Regions from separate parts of the Homo sapiens genome. Here region 1 is linked to region 2. The links are contacts of gene promoters, found by promoter capture Hi-C in human tissues and cell types (Jung and others, 2019). All regions are on one chromosome and are shown on one strand. Each heading gives the region's core, a stretch centred on a gene start or on the middle of the fragment in contact. The rest is flanking DNA. Distances are from core to core; before and after follow the strand shown.

Region 1 (2,768 bases), core at 15-2,514, 680 kb after region 2:
CATTCTTAGGTTTATTCTTAAAAAGAAAAATAGGAAGCTTGAGAACCATGAAAACACAATGCAGATAGGAATCACAAAATATGTACAAAATGTTATTGTTGCCCATCAAGATACAAACGGATACATCATGAATTTGATGACAATTTCTCCTCTTCGGATCTTATCTACATCCCTCCTTCTGGCCCTCAAAGTCCTCAATTATCCCTGTCACCTTAATCTCTTTCTTTTTCCTATTTTGTTCTTATTCTTGGATCTGACAAAACAGAAAGAAAAATGCACTATAATTATGAGCACATGATGTGCCTGGAACTGTGTTATGAGTTACCTTACTTAACACAACACTTCTAATATCTCCAGTGTTGAAGAAGAAACTGAGGTTTACAAATTCCAAAGTAGAAAAAATTCCCTCCACCTGAATGGCCTGCACAGCTCTATAGGATCTGGTTCCTGCCTACCTTGCAGCCCTCGCCTCCCTGATCTCCTACCTCTCTCATCTCCACTTCAGTCAAACTAACCTTTGAGTTCCTTGATCAAGTCAACTTCCATTCCACCCTAGGGCTGTTGCCCTTGTATTCAACATTGAAAGGCACTGGAATCTTCTTCCTCCAAACATGGTTCCTTCTAGCCATCTGGTTCTCTGCTCAAACGTTGTCACCTCATTAGAGTAATCTTCATGAATGTTCAGTTGAAAGTACCTATCTTTCCCTCAGAGTAACTCCTTGTTGTGGCCACGAAGGTGCACCATTCAGATGACCCTTTAAGGGAGCATAGTTGGCTGATAGCCTCCAACTGCCCCATCTTTAGATCTATTGCAGTGTTCTCACTTAGGCCTGAGGCTCTCTCTTCCAAGGCTGCCCTGAGCCTGTGACTGAGTAAGATAGGGGTACTAGACCCAGCCCACTTCACCACTTCCGCCCAGTACGGGACTTCCCTAATGAACAATATCTACTCAGGACTGGGTTGTGGGACAGAGATCTCATCAGGTTGGCCAAGACTTTCTTCAAGCTGCACCATAACCTGTCCCAAACTCCCTCTTTCCTTCTCTCCTTGTCCAGGTGTCAGAGCTGCATCACATTTGAAGTGCTCCCCAGCTACTCCTGCTCCTACTCTCTCTTATCCTTCACAGAATCTTCTCCCAATCTCTTGTTTGTCTAATTCTGTCTTGACGTCTGCTTCTCAGAAGACCTGAACTGGTGCACTCTCTTGTAAAACACTGCTTCATTACTTTCATAGCATTTATAACTATTTTTATTTTATCCAATTAAATTGATCCACTTATGTATTTATTTAATATCTCCCTCCTACCACTGCCACCATCTCCTCGTCAATGTAATCTGTCTTATTCATCACCTTATTCCCAGTGCTAAGAACACCACCTGGCTTATAATAGGTCTTCAGTTAATATTGTTGAATAAATGAATTAATGGATTTAGAAAGCTAGATTTATACTTTAGATCCAGAGGCTCCTCTTTATTCAATTACTGCGGGTTTTACTGTTCTAGGTCTTGGACATAAAACAGTAAGCAAGAAAGACAAAGTCTCTGCTCTTTTGAATTTATATTCAAGGGAGGGAAGACAGGTAATAAACACATAATCACAAATATATATATGCTATGTGATAAGAGATATAAAGAAATTATAGTGTGTAATAAGGGAATAAAGAGTGGTTGTTGAGTAGTTAGGAAAGATATCTCTCTGATAAGATTACATTTGAACAGAGATTTGGATGAAATAAGGGAGTGAGTCAAGCAGATACCTGGCTCAAGAGTGTTCCAGGCAGGGGGAGCATAAATGCCAAGGCCAATGATGGAGTGTGTTTGGCAAGTTCAAACAGTCTGGAGGTCAGGGAGGCTGAACCAGACAACAAGGAGAATGGCAGAAAATACTATGGGGAGGCACATGGTTAAAAAAAAGGGTAAGTCCTTGTATGCCATCATAAGGATTTTAGATGAGATTTTCCTCTAAGTGAGATGGAAAGTGAATGGATAGTTCTCCCTGACATTTTAAAAGGATGCATCTGGCTGCTAGGTGGGAACAGTAAGCGATTAAGGTAAAAGTAGAGGGAGCAGAAAGCAGGTTATTTAATATTTGATAAATATCTCCAGTGTCTATCAGTAAAGATGGCGATATTTGGCCAAGTTCTGGTTATATTTGAAGACAAAGTTAGTAGGATTTCCTAACAGATTGAATAACTAAGGCTTGCAGGAAAGGAAAGAATCTAGGATGACTCCAAGTATTTGGCCTGAGCAAACAGAAATGTGGAGTTGTTGATTACCGTGTTTTCCTCTGTTCAAGCTCAGCTGAACAGGTATAGTCATACAGAGGCAGAGTAGATTTAACCAGATTTGAAGTTTTTCCTGTTGAATACAATGGTGGGAGTGTTTTGAGGATATTGCAAAGGAATAATTGTCCTGATGGAAGATGGGATATAAGTTGCATAAGGAGAGACATTAGCACATGCAGCACACGACAGAAAGAGAAAAGGCATGTGGTCGGTAGATGGAAGGTCTCTGTGGGACTGGAGAATTGATGGTAATAACGTAACAGAGGGTGAGATGAAAAGGTCTGAAGTGGTGGTCAGAAAGTAGGGTGGCCATATTTTTTCCTTTGTCCCATAACTGTATCAGTCTGTTCTTATGCTGCTAATAAAGACATACCCAAGACTGGGCAATTTATAAAGGAAAGAGGTTTAATTGACTCACAGTTCAGCATGGCTAGGGAGGCCTCACAATCATGGTGGAAGGCAAAGGAGGAGCAAAGTCACGTCT
Region 2 (2,765 bases), core at 138-2,637:
TAGCACCGCGCCTTCTTCCGGAGCCTCCTCCCCCGGGCTGGCTAGGGGTGAGCGCAGGGGTTAGTCAGTACGCACGTGACGCGCGATGCCCACATGACACGACCGTGAGCGGGGGAGGGGGACACGGAGTGAAGAAGGGGAAAAGTTACAGAAGACCCGTCAAAGCGCCCAAAGCAATTTGTCCCTTCTTTTCTTCGCCAGCGGTGGCTCACGGATCCCTAAGGGACAGCTGGGGACCCAGGCGCCCCCAGCCCAGCCCCAGAAACGCTGGACGCAGTTCTCCGCTCACCCCACCACCTTCTCTTCCCAGACCCGCTGGTGATGCCGCTGCACCCTGAAGTTGCTCCTTCCTTCTTTCCCTCCCTTCCTCCCATTCTTTCTTTCTTTTCTTCCTTCCTCCCTTCCCCAAAAGCTCTTCATCCGCTTCGGGTGATGCCACTGACGCACATTCAATTTGCCCCAGCAGCTCTGAGGAGGTCAGACCAGGCCGAGCACCTTCCAAAGGGGAGGGTCTAACTGAGCAAACAAAGTTGCACGCCACACCACAACCTGCCCCTCCCCTCCCTTTAGCCCCCAAGTCGAATCCCCGGCGAAACTCACTTGCACTGCGGGTGCTCTCTGGCCCCCACCCCATCATCGCGCAACACACCCCCTTCAACATGCGCGGCCACCCTTTCATTGCCCTGCGCCCCGAGCGGTCCCACCGCCCGGCAAAACACTGAGCAAGCCGCTGCTCTCACCTTGCTTGACACACTTGAGCCGGAGGGGGTCCTTGCAGTGTTTGATCACGGCCAGCACGTCCCTGATGGTGAGCCCCGCCACGGGGGTCTCGTTCACCTCCAGCAGCAGCTCCTCCGACACCAATTTGCTGCCGCTCTCATAGGCCACCTTGCCGGGCTTCACCTCCCCCAGGTAGGGGAACTGTCCATTCTCGGCGCCCCCCTTCAGTTCAAAGCCCAGCTGGCCCTCCGGGTTCCTGCCAATGACACTCTCATGGACTTTGCTAGTCCAGTGGCTTTTCTTTTTCAAGCTTTTGGACATGGCAGTGGGGCGAGTCGCCTCAGTTCCTGGGCTCCTTGGGGTTAGGGGGGCTGGTGGTGAGAGAATGAGGATGGAGGAGCAAGGGGGCCCAGGGGGAAGAACAGCAGACTTTGCCTTCGCCCCCCTCTATTCGGTGCTTTCCCTCTTCTTTGGATGGAGTGTGGACGAGGAATGGGGAGGATGAGAGGGACGGCTGGGCAGAGGTAGGAGAGCTTGGATGAGGTTGTGCTGTCCCTTGAATGACACTCAAGGCTGTGGCCCCGCAGCAGAGGAAGCAGTGGTGGTGGCGTCGGCGGCGGCGGCGGCGGCAGCCGGAGCGAGCAGTAGCCGAGCTGGTGAGCGGGTGTGGTGGGGGTGGGGAAGGAGGGTAGGGATGCCGGGGGCCACTCCTGCGTGGTGCGAGTGGGAACGCGCGCGCGCGCCTGGGTGTGTGTTGTTAGCTGATATCCATGGCAGCTGCAGTGGCAGGGTGCGTGTGCGTGTGTGTGTGTGTGTGTGTGTGTACTAGTTCTACTGTACTGGCAGACGGGAGGAGGCAGGGGAGGAGGGGCGCGCGCGCCGGGTGGGGAGCCACGGAGGGCTTCGCCGCTGCCTCCCTCCCTCCCTCCGCAGCTTGACCCGGTAGTGAAGGCAGAGAGAGAGGCAGGCTGGGTCCGCCTGGCAGCCTACGGGAGGAGGCGGGAGCCGGGAAGGAGGGGAGCCTAGGCCCGGCGTGGGGAGGCCGGCAGGAAGGGCCTCGAGCCCAGTGCGGACCTTTCTTCAGCCTCTGTGCGACCGAGCCGCGCGCCAGGCTCCTGTGCGAGGAGGACGCGCTGACTCCCTCCGACCTGGGCTCCGATGGAGCAGAAATAGCGGGACCTGGACTTGTGGCGCGCCTGGTGCCACATCTCGGGCTCTGCGAGCGTCCTGGCGCGGGATCCTGCCGTGAGAAGGAGTTGGGGCGGGGGACCCGGCGGGGCATTGCGGGAGAAGGCCTGGGATCCCTGGGAGCCTTGTAGCGTGGGGGAGTTCACTGTGTAGAGAGGTTTCATGTCTTCATCTATATAGTCACTTATTTGTCTTAAAGTTCTCGAAATTCCCTCTTAGAGAAGGAGAAAGTTAGAGAACTGGAGGCTGCGTACCCTGATTACGCAGAAGGGAAGCAGCCTCGCATTCCCCGGGGCAGGCCCCCGCCCGCGCGTCCCGCCAGTAGGGGAATTTAGCGGACGGCTGCGGTTGTCTGGTGAAAGGCTATCCAAGGATAAGGGGCTTCACTTTTCCCAAGTAGGGGAAAGAGAAGGGGTCTACAGGGCTAGGGGTGGAGGGAGCGGATGCAGTGAGCAGCCTCCGCAGAGAAATTGACAATTTAACCAGGGACCTGCGGCAGAGACAAGGCGGAGACACTCCCTTGCCCAGGAAAGCCGCCAGAGTCCGGCTTGTACCTGGGGAAGAATCCTTAAGACGGTCTGGCCCAACACTCCTTTGCTCACAGAGAAAGGGGAGAAGACTCCCGAGGGTGAAAATGGTACATTCGGAGCTGGAACTCAGCTCGCTGACCCCAAGCAGTGTTCCCTTCTTTTCGCCAGGTTTGCATCCAAGAGAGGGGAGGACAGGGGCAAAAGGATGCAGGGAGGCTGCTGATTTCCACTGAAGAGCTAATTTCCTGTGAGACATTAACAGTGATTTAAGAAAAAGATTCCTGTAACTGGTAAATGAATTTCATTTGCTTAACTTTTAGATGATAT

The links. The method cuts DNA at HindIII sites, captures the fragments that hold promoters and counts their contacts. A contact is called where the count stands out against the background at its distance.
Region 1: a fragment that was not itself captured here is called in contact with the fragment with the promoter of MAGI2 in region 2 in 1 of the 25 tissues and cell types used here (hippocampus).

What each region holds. Positions count from the first base shown.
Region 1 is chr7:80,128,227-80,130,994 of GRCh38, forward strand. No RefSeq gene overlaps it. Among named protein-coding and RNA genes, the nearest start is that of GNAI1, 5.2 kb to the right of the region's middle. The HindIII fragment of the contact is 4,059 bases long and covers 1-2,768 here.
Region 2 is chr7:79,452,280-79,455,044 of GRCh38, forward strand. MAGI2 (membrane associated guanylate kinase, WW and PDZ domain containing 2) reads right to left here and starts at 1,388. Exons shown (of 22, transcript NM_012301.4): 1 at 741-1,388. The coding sequence starts at 1,041. It overlaps MAGI2-AS3 (MAGI2 antisense RNA 3), which reads left to right and starts at 678. Exons shown (of 4, transcript NR_038346.1): 1 at 678-912; 2 at 1,308-1,376. RefSeq lists an enhancer at 1-128. The HindIII fragment of the contact is 8,431 bases long and covers 1-2,765 here.